Linked DNA regions of Homo sapiens: all the other regions are linked to region 2. The links are contacts of gene promoters, found by promoter capture Hi-C in human tissues and cell types (Jung and others, 2019). All regions are on one chromosome and are shown on one strand. The core of a region is centred on a gene start or on the middle of the fragment in contact, and the rest is flanking DNA. Distances in the headings are between cores, read along the strand shown.

Region 1 (2,700 bases), core at 53-2,552, 740 kb after region 2:
GCTGCTGCCACGTCTTTGCCCCTCCCCCCTTCACGTAGTGGCTATTTCATCCCCTCCGAGTGCATTCCAAGCGAAAGTCCGAGAACCACTGCTCTCGGAGAAACCAGAAACAGTTAAGTGGAAATTGGCAAGTCTCTTTGGCCTTTTAGATCAATTCCTAAAAGAGGATCTAGCTGCTTCTTCAACCCTTTCTTAAAGAAAACAGTGCAAAATTCCAAGAGTCTTCACTCTATCCGGAACGCGTAAGATGTTAGTGTCTAAACATTGAATTTGTATGTAACAGAGTCGATTATTTAGGAGAAAGAGTCTCACAGTTATCATACCATCCTTCCTCCCCATTGAAACATACATCCGGGGGCCAGCCATGTAATCCAACTCAAAATCCTCACACAACCATGGAATTTGTTGGACTGATGTGGACTTTTAAAAGCTGCAAATTCTCGGCAGAGAGAGACAGAGAGACAGAGATTGAGAGAAGAGCTCTTGTCTCTTTTTAAAAAAAGTTATGGGGAAGAAGAGGGAAGGAAGCTTCCCTGACGACGAGGTGACCTGAGAGCCTACTTCCTCGGCGCTACGAGCAGAAAGCTCGGCGCCCCGGGCTACGTCTGGCAGCTAATGCTGCACCGCTGCGCGCAACAGATGAGTTCAGCCGGAACTTTCTGGGGAGGTCCCCCCAGCTCCCGGCGACTTTCGATAGGGCAAAAATGCCTGGCGCGCTGCGGATCCAGCTCCAAGCCTTAAAATCCGCTCTCCACCGCCACATGCGAACCATCTGCGGCTGTGGCGGCCAAAAGCCCACGCCCCGCGCTTGCGTTCCCCTTAGCCTCGTTAGGGAGGACCAGGTGCAGGGGAACTTGGAAAAAAAAAAAAGCAACAGAGTGATTCCTCCCCGGGAAGGAAAATTCAAGAAAGTCCTGGTCCCTAGGGCGGGGACTGAGGCTGCAGCAGCCCCAGCGGTCCGAGGCGCACTAGGGACAGAGGTGGGAAGGGGGGCACGAAGGAGCGCGGGCGCCGGGAGTCGCGTGGCGCAGGGAGAGGGGCCGAGTCTCCCGAGGGGAAGGAACCGAGGCTGCTGTGGTAACCTGGGGAACCCCCGCCCCAGAAGTACCACCACAGCGGGAAGGAATGGATCGCCGCAGCCGTCCGAGAAGGTCCACGGCTGCCCAGTGGCCTCAGTCTCCGGGATCGAGGGAGCGTCTCACCTGGAAAGTGGGACGAGAGGGCGGCGCGCTCTTCAGCCCCCAGTCGCCTCCACTCGGAGCGGCTACTTCCTACCCTCAGCCCGCTGGCGGCGCGACTGGGCAGCAGAGGGAGCCCGTTAGCCCTTTTATAACCTCTAGGCCGCGATGGCAGCGCCAGGGAGGAGGCGACTGCAGCCCTCGCTACGTGAGCTCGATCACACCAGCGCCCCGGCGACTGCGCAGGCGCCAAGCCCGTGCCTCCCTGCTGCCCCCACCCGTGGCCGGCCCGTGGAGTCTGAGGCCGAGAGGAGTGGCTGGGACCGGCCGCCGTGGTGTGGGTAAGCGGGAGTGGGATGTAACGCGCCTGCGCAGGGTTCTCGCCCCGCCACCGTTACCGTGGTTACCACGGGGTTTCCCCCGCTCCTGTTCAGTTTGCCTCCTTGATTTCAGGGTCCGCGTCAGGCCTAAGCGACGAGGCCGCCGGCAATAAAGTATCTTAAAAATGAGAAGAGGAACGTGGGAGTGTAGAAAATAAAGCAGAATTTTTCTAGGGTGGAAAATAATAGAGATTCAGTCTTGGTATCTCAGCTGTCTTGTTCCTCTCACATCTCAGCACTCATTTTATACTAATCGTGCTCTATCTCCTACCTTTATACCTTATCAGTAGATAATAGACTAAGAGCTCCAGGGTCAGGTTATCTCAATTCAAATCCTGCCTCAATCCTGTGTGTAACACTAGGCATTAACAACCTCTCCGTATCCGTTTACTCATCTGTAAAATAGAAATGACGGTACTACCCATCTTGTAAGATTCTTGTGAGAATAAAATGAGATAATGTATGTAAAGCACTTAACACATGCCTCACACACAGAAATGACTTAGTAAATATTAGATTCTCCAGTAACATTAATTTATATAAGGCACCCAATGTTGCGTTTGATCTTAGTCTAACATTTGCCTTAGTTATAAAGTAACCCCAAACCAAGGGTTTCTTTATATCTCCCTGTACTATGAGGGAGAATACAATGAAGAAGATAATTTTTTCCTTGTCAGTTAAAGAGAAAAATGAGTTGCTAAGACTTGTTATTCATTAAGAATTGTGGTTTCTAAAGTTTTCCATGTATGCTAAAAAGTATAGCAATAATTAACATTTGACTTACGCAGGAGGTGAGTGATTATATAGCTACAGAAAGAGAGAGAGGGTACTCTGGGAGCACTAGGCAACTAAAAAGTAGATATAATGATGTCTAAATCAATGGTTCTGAAAGCGTAGTCAGGGAATCCATAAGGTCAAAATTATTTTCATACTAAGACTTTATTTTCATACTAAGACTTACTGCCTTTTTCACTCTAATAACAATACAGTGAGGTCTTCCAGAGACTACATGCCTGTGATACAGATGGAACGCAGACACAGATATGAGAATCTTCTATTAGCCCAGACACTGAAGAGATTTGCAGAAATGTAAAATAATGCCACTCTTCTCACTAAATTATTTTGCTTTGGAAAATAGTTAT
Region 2 (2,718 bases), core at 167-2,666:
TTAGGAGGCTGACTGCTGTTCCTCAATTTCATTTCTTTTCCTTCATAAACATTTACAGAGTCACAGAACATTTTACTTTCTAGCTGTGTCATCCTGGGCATCCCTTACCTCAGAGATTTTCCTCACCCATAGAATAAAGATAATGATCTTTGCTCTGCATCCCTGACTGGCAGGCTCAAGTGAGAAGGCACAGGTGAAGGAGCTTCCTAAACTGCAAAGCCCTATGGGTATTATTGCCAATCACATTATCTGCGCCAACCCTCTAATCTTCCCGAGGAGGAAACCCAAGCTCAGGAAGGTCACGTGGTAGCCGTCAGGATGAGACTGGGCCCTTCGGAGTGCCTGTTATTCCCAGACGGTTTACTGAGTGGTGATCACAAGCACCACCCGGTGTCTCTCTCCCCTCTAGCGTGGATTAAGAAAAACTCCTTGGAAAACTTAGGTTAAAGAAAAAAGAAAGGGTTCCCGGGTGAAGCGAGGTGATGAGTTGTAAAGCCAGCTTCACTCTTCCCTCCCTGGCTCAGGAGGCTCCTGTCCAGGGCAACTCAGCAGCCTCGGCGTCCACATGGCTGACCGCCGCTGGACTCTTGCGGGCGATGGAGGACTGGCGGTGGCTGAGGTCAGCACCTCCCACCAGGCCACCCGCTCCGAATCTCATCATCGGGAGGAGTGAGGGGCCCGGCTTCAGGACAGTCCGAGGCGGCGGACTGGGGTGGGTGCAAAGGCCGGCTTGCATTTTGGGAGAGTGGTCCCTGACCCTCAGCCCGAGAGGTGAGAGGGAGTGAAGATACGGAAGCGCCTTTCCCTGGCGCCCGAAGAACAGAAATGTCTCCCTGTCTAGCGCCCATTCTCTCCCTTAAAGGAGTTATGTTTATTTTCCTGAACTGTAATATTTCCCAGGCCGGCGACTGGCCTGGGCTACCGAACGGCCCCTTGGGAAAAGTAGTTCGAGTTCACTTCCAGGTAAGTTCCCTTCGTCCCGGCTGCCAGCGCGTTTCATTCTCGGAGACCTCAAACCCCAGCGGGCTCCGCCAGCACCCCGAAAGCTGAAGTCCCGGCCGCCCGAGTCTCCAGACGGCTCGCATCCCGCAGAGGAACAAGAGGGAAAAACTACGCCTCCCAGCAGCCACCGCGCGCCTCAGTGCGCAGGCGTAGCCGCGCCTCGCCACCCCTCCCCCTCCCCCAACTGCTCCCGTCGGTCCGTTCCCGTGTTCCCCCCATCAGTTCTAATGTCCCCAGTCTCTCCGGCACCTCACACTCACCGCGAACTCGCGGCGTCGGATACAGCCGCTGTGCCTTCTCCAGGAAGCGGAGCGCCCGGTCGGGCTGGTTGCTCTGGATGGCCTTGAGGGCGATGCTGATACAGCGCTCAGCTTCATCCTTGTTGGATTCCATGGCGGAACCAGAACGCGGAACCAGGGAGGGGGAGGCCGGGCGAGCGAAGGGCTGCGCCACCCGCCGGCGCGTCGCGGGCAGCCGGGCGCGGAGTGATGACATCCACCCTCCGCCCCTCCTTTCCCGAGTTTTGAGCGAGGGTGGAAGTGCTACCGTATGTCTTCTAAGAAAGGGACGGCTGGTGTAGGTGTCAATAATGGTGCACGCCCAGATTCCATGTTCCGGAGGTCTTAGAGTTGAGTATGCGCCAACCCTCTAATCTTCCGGAGGAGGAAACCCAAGCTCAGGAAGGTCACGTGGTAGCCGTCGGGATGAGACTGGGGCCTTCGGAGTGCCTGTTATTCCCAGACGGTTTACTAAGTGGTGATCTATATACGTAATGTAACTACATACGTTTCAGACAAAGGTTATTTATTCACTGAACAGATATTGAGTGCCCACTGTTTGTGAGGCATGGTTTTATGATGGGGATACAGGGGTGAGCAAAACAAAGCTCCTGCTCTCATGGAGCTTACATTCCAGTGTGTGTAGGCTGGGGGAGCTCCAGATAGATTCAGATAGTGATAAAAGCTCTGAAGAAAAATTATGGAAAACACAGGGATAGAGAGTGGGAGGCGCTATTTTAAATAGCGCGATAAAAGAAACCTCTCAGAAGCTGTCATTAACAGGTACCAGAATTCAGGAACGATAACAGGTAGATGTGACTGTCTGGAGGAAGGGTGGTCAGGCCGAAGGAACAGCAAGTGCAAAGGCTCTGAAAAGGGAATTCTCTTGGTGAGTTATAACAGATCAGGAAGGCGAATACATTCTAGGGAGCGTAAAGATTCTACTACAGGCTGGGCGCGGTGGCTCACGCCTGTAATCCCAGCACTTTGAGAGGCCGAGGCGGGCGGATCACTTGAGGTCAGGAGTTCGAGACCAGCCTGACCAACATGGAGAAACCCCGTCTCTACTAAAAATACAAAATTAGCCGGGCATGGTGGCACATGGCCTGTAATCCCACCTACTCGGGAGGCTGAGGCGGGAGAATCGCTTGAACCTGGGAGGTGGAGGTTGCGGTGAGCCAAGATCACACCATTGCACTCCAGCCTGGGCAACAAGAGTGAAACGCCATCTAAAAAAAAAGAAGAAAAAAAAAAGATTCTACTACAGAGTGTAATCCAGTTCTATCATTATCCCGTTCTTCGAGGGCTATCACTCCAGTGAAAGCAATCTTGTGAAGGTTGCCAGTGACCTCCACGTTGCCGAATCCCCGAGTCATCTGTCAGCCCTTACATTGCTTGGCCTTTCAGGCAGGATTTGGTAAGATGCTACTACAGTAAT
Region 3 (2,700 bases), core at 129-2,628, 780 kb after region 2:
GTAACATGATCTTTTGGTTTATATTCGCATTAAAATTTAAGAAATACTGCTTTAGATAAATCTAATGTATGGTTTCTACTAGATTTTGACAATTCTGGAAGTGACTATAGTTTTAAAAGTGGTTTAGATGATCAAAGCAAGGAGAATTAACATTAATTAAAGGCCTATTGTAGGTTTTACTGCTGTCTAATTTGGTTCTCATGTTAATTTTATGATATGAGGATTACTGGTTTATAGATACATTCACAGTGGACAGCTGAGCTAGACTTCAAACCCTAACCCATAAGACTCCAGGGTTCTTGCTCTTTCCATAATACCTCTGTTTAGGATTAGACAGTGGTGGCATTAAAAACTAGGATGAAAACATAAACGGAAGGTGAATCCTAAATTTGGCTCTAAATTAGGGAAAAATACAAAATAAACTGTTAAAACTGGAAAGTTATTTGAATGTTTAAGATCCTGTTTATTTACTTATGTTATTTTGTTTTAATCCACTGTGGCCCAAGGCATAGTCTCAAAAGGTCTTGAGAACATGTGCCCTCTCTTTTTTAAAATCCATTTAAGCTGTAGTTTTTTTAAACTACTTTTGAAAAAAAATGTATTTAAGAAGTAGTAGTGTACAATCGCATTCTAATTTGAGCATATTATATGACTTTTTATTTTAAATCCTGATAGATAACGTAGAATAAGTAATATAATGAAGCTTATGTTTTGGAAAATTAAGTCTATGATCCTTTATCCTACCAGAGTTAGGAAAACAATTAACATTCTTATTTATTTCAAATCTCACACACCAAAAAAAGAAAAACTATGATAAAATATGGTTTTAGCTATCTGACATACTAGACTCAGAAAGAGAAAGAGGTTAAAAACACACATACCACTTGGTTCCTAGTGGTGAAACTTTTGCTGATGCAGGTGTGTGCTAGTTCCTGGTCCATCTGGGCCATGTATGACTTGAGATTATCAAGTGTTCCTTTCAGGGAAGCCTCTTCGCCAGGTTCGTGTGTTTCAAAGTCCAAGTCATCATCACTATCTAAACATTCAAAGTCTTCATCATCCAGATCATCAGAATCTGACTCATTAGGCCTTGGCCCTACACAGATCCCAAGAAAGAAAGAGCCACTTAGTAATTATTATTATTATTATTATTATTATTATTATTTAGTTACTACACATCTCAAAATAATTAGAATGTTACCCACAGAAAAAGACTAATACACACAGTCAGTCTACTTCACAAAAATCCCTTCTACAAATGGTAATGCTGGCAGATATGTGTGCATTTAATGTTGTGGAAAAGCGTACAAGCTGAATCAAAAGATTTAGCTTAAAAAAAAGTGAATTCAATTAATTAAAATATTTTTCTTAAAAAATTTTTAAAAATACCTAATAAATGAATACATTTTGATGTAAACATTCAAGCCATACAAGTATTGTCTCCAATCTCACTCTCTCCCCAGAGGTAAGCATCTTTTAGCAGTTTCCGGGTATCCCAATCTTTCTCTCTGCAGTTCTGTACATATATACATATTATAATTATTTTTTGAGTTATCTTTTTATTACTGATTTGTAAGTACAGTAATTCCAAAAAAGAACAATATAATATGGGAGCCAAGGTAAAACCCTATTTAAACACACAGCATTCAGTCACTCTCAAATATTTAATGAGGCCGGGCACGGTGGCTCACGCCTGTAATCCCAGCACTTTGGTAGGCTGAGATGGGCGGATCATGAGGTCAGGAGATCGAGACCATCCTGGCTAACACGGTGAAACCCCGTCTCTACTAAAAATACAAAAAAATTAGCTGGGTGTGGTGGCAGGCGCCTGTAGTCCCAGTTACTCAGGAGGCTGAGGCAGAAGAATGGCATGAACCCAGGAGGCGGAGCTTGCAGTGAGCCGAGATCGTGCCACTGCACTCCAGCCTGGGCAACAGAGCGAGACACTGTCTCAAAAAAAAAAAAAAAAAATTAATGAGCAGCTACTATATATGTCAAACACTAAGCTAGGCAGCCTCTACAAAATTATTCATGGGTAGTAATTCATGGTTGAAAGCAACTCAAACCAGGAAGAGAAAGCAAACATTTTGGCTTCTGAGATATCTCATAAACCAATGCTCTAGCAACAGCCATACTACTAACAGTTTCAAAATGAAAGTCAACATCACACCACTACTTACCTAAAATCTTATCAAAATAATTAAGAAAAGAATCTGCATCAAAAGTGATTGGAGCCTCAGAAGGTTCTCTGCAATATTAAAGGACAAAGACAATTAATTTATTCTAAATACAACTCTTTGAAACTTTTCTAAAGTGGTGCCATTCTTAGGAAAGCTACCAAAGATAGAATTTCTAAGGAGGCACAGCAAGAAAAGTTGTAGTTTAAGTTTTAAAAATCCTTGAGTTTACTGGCCTTGCAGGACAACAGAAATGGGAAAGTCTGATAAATGAAAAGTAAAAATTGCATCTTGTTTATGTACATTTAGCTTATGCTGATTTAGGGACCTACCCACTCTCTAGCCCCAATAAGATATCTAGCATTAGCAAAACCATTATTTATTTGAGTTAATTTAAATAAAGCCTGTTCTTTTAAGAACTAAAGCTTAAAAAATAAACAAGAACATATCTTCCCTTATCCCTGCTTTCTTAAAGAGAGAATACCAAATATAAATTTATATCTTTCATCAGGTTCAAGAGCAT
Region 4 (2,700 bases), core at 25-2,524, 600 kb after region 2:
ATTAAACCATAAAACTAATGCTACCTGAGACCTGAGACTGTGCATGCTTTGGAAAACGTTTTCATGCGCATTGGCAATTACACGATGCCACCCAGCTTCAAGGCCTGGGGCTCCACATTTTGCTCCCCTTACATTAACTTCCAGGGCCCCTGGGACCAGGGGCTCTGTGCCGGCAGCCAGGTGTGCACCTTATATCTGTGTACCCCCAGCCATATTCAGGCAAGGTAGGGGAAGTGCTCCTGCCAGCTCACAAATCTGCATCTGGCGCCAAGTCCAGGGGACAGCCCCGGGATCCCTGGTGAGCCACGAACCCTTCCTCTCCACAGCATGCCTGTCGTTGCCGAGGCTGCAGGCAGGGACAGCTCCCTTGAGAAAGTCCAGCAAATTGATGCCAGTCAGGGACTGAGAGCTGGGAGGACGGTGTGAACTGCAGCAGGGGGAAGGGAGAATTTGTTTCCAAGCTGAGCACAGAGCAGCTGAGGAGGTGGTTTTGCCCCATGGCAGATTTTTCTCTGAATGTTCGGCTTCAGTTTTCATCCCTGGGAACTCCTCACAGAGGCCTCTCATACCCACCCTCCTTCTTCCCACCCCAGGTACCCTTTTTTCCTAAGAACTGCCTCACAACAAACTCATTAAAATGGCCCAGGGAAGGTTTCCCAGATACAATACAGGAAGCTCAGTGAAATGTGAGTTTGAGATAAACAACGAAGAATTTGTCAGGATAAGTATGTCCCAGATATTTCACTGGACATACTTATACTAATGACTTATTTGTTGTTTATTTGGATTTCACATTTCACTGGGTGTCCTACATTTTTATCTGCTAAATCTGGCAGCTCTAAGTGGATAACAGGAAAAAGTGCAAGACAGATCGTGACCTCTCTGGGGCTGTCCATGGGTCCACCAGCAACAGTTTTTACAGAAAGAGAAACCGCACACTCACCATATCGGCACCTGTACTGACAGACTCCATTCTTCCCTCCCAGCAGCTCCAGAAAAGAATCGAAGTAGCTATTGACGGATTCAAAGCTTCCCCGGAGGTGCCGAAGGCCCCAGTCTGAATAGGACTCCTCCGTGTCAGGGCTCGTGTCGCTCTGAGCCAGGCCACCCCCAAGGCTGAGCCACAAAACCAAGAAGCCACTGGCCAGCTTCATCCTGCAGCCAGGTAGGTACTGGCTTCTCTCCTCAAACCCCAGCCAGTGTCCCAGAATTCCAGGGACAAACCCCCTACCCAGATGTCAGGCAGGACTGGGAAAGGGATTATCTGGAACATTCAATCTGTCTGTTCCCCAGAGGTGGACTTTAAACATAGCTATGGAGGTTGGGATGAGATCAGGGCAATTAGAAAGAGGGCAAAGGTTAGGGAGTGGGAGGGCCAGGGAGAGAGAACATTTCAAAGTGGATTCTACCACCCTGGAGGGAGGGAGATGTTAGCCAGCTTCTGAGACGCAGGAACGGTGAAGGATTCGGAGTTCTACCCCGACCAGCTTGTTAAGCTGTTGATCAGTTACAAGTGTGGCTCTTCAGGGCCAGCCTCTTGATAGAAGAGCTTGACCGAAGGTCCTAGCCACACCCCTCAGCCAGCTACCTACATAGTCTCCAAGGAGAGTCAGGAGGATGTGTACAGGGCCCAGGAAAGCCCCAGCGGTAGGAATTAATAGTCACTTTACCAAGGGTCACGATAGTGTCAGAGTAGGTACCAAGTGTGTGTTAAGCAGAAGTTCAGATTTGAGACCCCAGCTTCTGCTGTGGAACCCACCTGGCTCTGACGCATAAATCCTCTAATTTGGCAGAGCTCCCAGATGTAGCCATCTGAGTGCAGGGACATTTTGGCTTCTATTTACAGCAGTATCTCTGTTTACACTCAGCATAAGTGGATCATAAGACAAGATCTACAGATGGTCCAAGGACAATTCTGGGGGCACTCGGCTCTCCTGGTGGTGTTTTTCCTTTGAGTTTCTTAGAAGTCAGAGGGTTTATCAAATAGTCTATTTGGGAGTGTAGGCTTTTAAGACTGTTGACTGAAGTCTAGTGTTTTGGCATCGTTTTCAGTTTAGACTGCTTTTAGTCGTGTGAAGAAATGCCATCTATAAAATCACTAGTCTAGGACCGGGCATGGTGGTGCATGCCTGTAATCCCAGCATTTTGGGAGGCCGAGGCGTTTGGATCACCTGAGGTCAGGAGTTTGAGGCCAGCCTGACCAACATAGCGAAACCCCGTCTCCACTAAAAATACAAAAATTAGCCAGGCAAGGTAGCAGCCGCCTGTAATCCCAGCTACTAGGAAGGCTAAGGCAGGAGAATCACTTGAACCCAGGAGGCGGAGGTTGCAGTGAGCCGAGAGCACGCCATTGCACTCCAGCATGGGCGACAAGAGCGAAACTCTGTCTCAAAAAAATAGTAATAATAAAATAATCACCAGTCTATAAAAATGATACCTTTATGGACCACATGAATCATTTAGCTCCTTTCTCAAATGTTTGTCTGGAAAGCCCCATGGAAAATAATGAATTAAATGAATTAATTTCTTCATTTTCAGTAAATGTGTTTGGCTGAAGACTCAGACTCCAGGAAGGGCAGTGGTTAAAAATTATTCATAGTCACAACAATGCCACCCAATATTTTAAAGCATCTATACTTTTTCAAACCACTTTCATGCATATGCACATACACAGAGGCACACACATACACATGCACATAT
Region 5 (2,716 bases), core at 131-2,630, 680 kb after region 2:
ACTTTAAAAGCGTGAATTTTATGATACGGGAACTATATCTCAATTTTAAATGGTACTCCCAAATTCAGCTATATCCCTTTTTCACATATGCTTTTAAGCAGTCAATCAGTCCTTCGCTTTCTTCACTTCTCCTCTCACTGAGCTTTGATTCCATAGTTCATCATTTTAACATTCTTTCTAAACGCCTAAACTCAACTGTCTGGCAAAAACAATCCTGGATCAATCTCTTTTATCTAAGCGTATATCTCTGTCACCAAACCCTACTGGAGAAAGTCATGAAATAGGGCAGATATGTTCCACTAAAAATTCATGAATACCAACTTCAAATGGGCTCTTCACTTTACTTCCTCTTCCACTCTGTACCCTAACTCACTTCAGCCTCTCCCTTCACTCAGTAGATAATGTATTTCCTACTTCATAGAGCAAATAAACGCCTTTACAATTAAAAATGATTTCCCCAAATCTGTACATCCCTCCAGTTACCAATCTTTCTTTTCCCTCTTCAAGCTAACTTTGTCAGATTCCTAATCTCTGAACCCACTGTAATCTAGCTTTAGTCACTTATATCACTCCCTCAAAATTGCTCTTGCTAATCTTACCCACAGCCCTATTGTGCTTCTAAATCTAATGACATTTTTCAATTCTCATTGTATTTGTTCCTTTGGTAACATTTGTGACAATACTCATCCTTTTGGAAACTCTCTCAAACACTCATTCTCCAGGAATTCCTCTAGTATCTCAGGCTGCTTTTTCTTGGTCTCCTAATTTACAGCCTCCAACACTATATTCTGCCTCCCTCTCAGGACAGCAGCAACATTTCCTCAAGAACGTATTTCCTCTAGGCCTAAGGCTAGTGCGTATGCTCTTCTCTCTGCCCAGAATATTCTTTTTCACTTTGCAAAATTAAGACTCTGGATATCACCTTAGTTACCACTTCTTTAGAGAAGCTTTCCTTTACCTCTCCCGCTGCCAGACGAAGCCAAAGCTTCCACAGACAGACAAAGGAAGCGAGCAAGCGTAAGAGAGAGAGCAAGAGAGAGTGTGTGGGTTTTTCTTTAACAAGAGAAAGACATGGAGAAGAAAGAAGTTTTTACTAATCATTACCAACATGAAACTAACATGACAAACAGGGTGGATTCTTAGATTTATCCTATATTACTAAAATTATTTGCTTGGTGATATCTTGCAAATTTTTTGGGACTGGCTGAGTATTACAGAATTCCTCAGTGTAGCAAAAATGGGAAGAATCAAAGTGTTATTGTTGTAAAGAATATAGCTGATTAAGTATATTAAGAATTTTTTTCTTCTAATTCTGCCCAAGTTCCTGGTAGAACTAATCTGGTATATGTCAATGTACCTGTCTTTCCTGCCTAGCACAATTTGATGGATGTCTGAACTTTATAAGCAACCAACCAACTACTGACTTGATTTTTACAGGTAATTGCAATGCTAAATTGGAAAGCATTCTAATAAAGCTTCGAACTAAATGCCTCATGAACAAACTGTTCCTATTCCATCCTGGAACCTATCACCCACAGAGAACGTGTCTTCTGATATCTTCAACTTCCCTCCCTGCTACCAACAACTTTTAAATATCTAGTCTTATCTTTTCCTCTTGTACTTTGGTAGAATCATCGTCCTTCAGCCTTATAGAGGCAGACTTTCTATCTATGCTTTTGATTCTATGCTTTCTAACTCTAGATGCCTTACTCCAGCAGTTATTGCCTCCCTTTTATCTTTAATCTCCTCCTTGTCAATGCTTGCTTATTGAAGTCTCCTGCTACCAAGAAAAATACCTTCACTTTAGCCATTCTAGCAAATTACCACTCCAGTCTTTCACTTTACTCCTTTAAAACTGCAAAAGTAAGAAATGCTTGTTACATTCCACAAATGGTCATGGGACACTGGTTATCTACATGCAAAGAAAGAAGCTGGACCTCTGCTTCACATTATATTAAAACGAATTACTCAAGATGGATCAAAGACCTAAATGTAAAAGCTAAAATTATAAAAACTGTGGGAAGAAAACACAGGAGCAAATCTTTGTGACGTTGGACGAAGCAATGGTTTAGCTATGACATCAAAAGTACAGGCAACAAAAGGAATAAATAAATGGGACATTATCCAAATAAAAACCTTTTATGCTTCAAAGAATAACATCAGGAAAGTTAAACAGGATGGGCACAGTGTCTCAAATCTGTAATCCCAGCACTTTGGGAAGCCAAGGCAGGAAAATCACTTGAGTTCAAGACCAGTCTCGGCAACCTAGCAAGACCCTGTCTCCACAAAAAAAGTTTAAAAATTAGCCAGGCATGGTAGCGTGTGCCTGTGTAGTCCTAGCTACTCATAAGGCTGAAGCGGAAGGATTACTTAAGCCCAGGAGTTCAAGGATGCAGGGAGCTACAATCACACCACTGCACTCCAGCCTGGGCCCCAGAATGAGAACCTATCTCTAAAAAAATAAAAATTTGTGGTAAAATACATGTAACATAAAATTAGCCATTTAGACTATTTTTTAAATTATGGTAAAATATATATAACAGCAATTTTACCATTTTAATTAAGTGTACAATTCACTGGTGTTAAGTACATTTACAATACCTTACAACCATCAGCACTATCCATTTCCAGAACTTTTTCATCAAAACCAAACAGAAAACTGTACCCACTGAACAACAACTCCCATCTCTCCCTCCTCACAACCCCTGGTAATCCT

Evidence for each region. Contacts are between HindIII fragments. The study calls those that stand out against the background at their distance.
Region 1: a contact is called between the fragment with the promoter of P4HA1 here and the fragment with the promoter of DNAJB12 in region 2, in 1 of the 25 tissues and cell types used here (dorsolateral prefrontal cortex).
Region 3: a contact is called between a fragment that was not itself captured here and the fragment with the promoter of DNAJB12 in region 2, in 1 of the 25 tissues and cell types used here (dorsolateral prefrontal cortex).
Region 4: a contact is called between the fragment with the promoter of PLA2G12B here and the fragment with the promoter of DNAJB12 in region 2, in 1 of the 25 tissues and cell types used here (mesendoderm cells).
Region 5: a contact is called between a fragment that was not itself captured here and the fragment with the promoter of DNAJB12 in region 2, in 1 of the 25 tissues and cell types used here (aorta).

Annotation. Positions count from the first base shown.
Region 1 is chr10:73,095,564-73,098,263 of GRCh38, forward strand. P4HA1 (prolyl 4-hydroxylase subunit alpha 1) reads right to left here and starts at 1,303. Exons shown (of 15, transcript NM_001017962.3): 1 at 1,203-1,303. RefSeq lists enhancers at 684-1,439, 1,684-1,753 and a silencer at 1,324-1,653. The HindIII fragment of the contact is 7,006 bases long and covers 1-2,700 here.
Region 2 is chr10:72,353,503-72,356,220 of GRCh38, forward strand. It overlaps DNAJB12 (DnaJ heat shock protein family (Hsp40) member B12), which reads right to left and starts at 1,417. Exons shown (of 9, transcript NM_017626.7): 1 at 1,263-1,417. The coding sequence starts at 1,395. RefSeq lists enhancers at 874-1,003, 1,394-1,643. The HindIII fragment of the contact is 25,714 bases long and covers 1-2,718 here.
Region 3 is chr10:73,135,823-73,138,522 of GRCh38, forward strand. It overlaps ECD (ecdysoneless cell cycle regulator), which reads right to left. Exons shown (of 14, transcript NM_007265.3): 12 at 2,181-2,248; 13 at 882-1,096. Among named protein-coding and RNA genes, the nearest start is that of SNORA11F, 11 kb to the left of the region's middle. The HindIII fragment of the contact is 3,377 bases long and covers 1-2,700 here.
Region 4 is chr10:72,953,532-72,956,231 of GRCh38, forward strand. PLA2G12B (phospholipase A2 group XIIB) reads right to left here and starts at 1,275. Exons shown (of 4, transcript NM_032562.5): 1 at 944-1,275. The coding sequence starts at 1,154. The HindIII fragment of the contact is 10,065 bases long and covers 1-2,700 here.
Region 5 is chr10:73,031,761-73,034,476 of GRCh38, forward strand. The region is part of intron 9 of P4HA1 (prolyl 4-hydroxylase subunit alpha 1); the gene reads right to left. Among named protein-coding and RNA genes, the nearest start is that of P4HA1, 64 kb to the right of the region's middle. The HindIII fragment of the contact is 5,362 bases long and covers 1-2,716 here.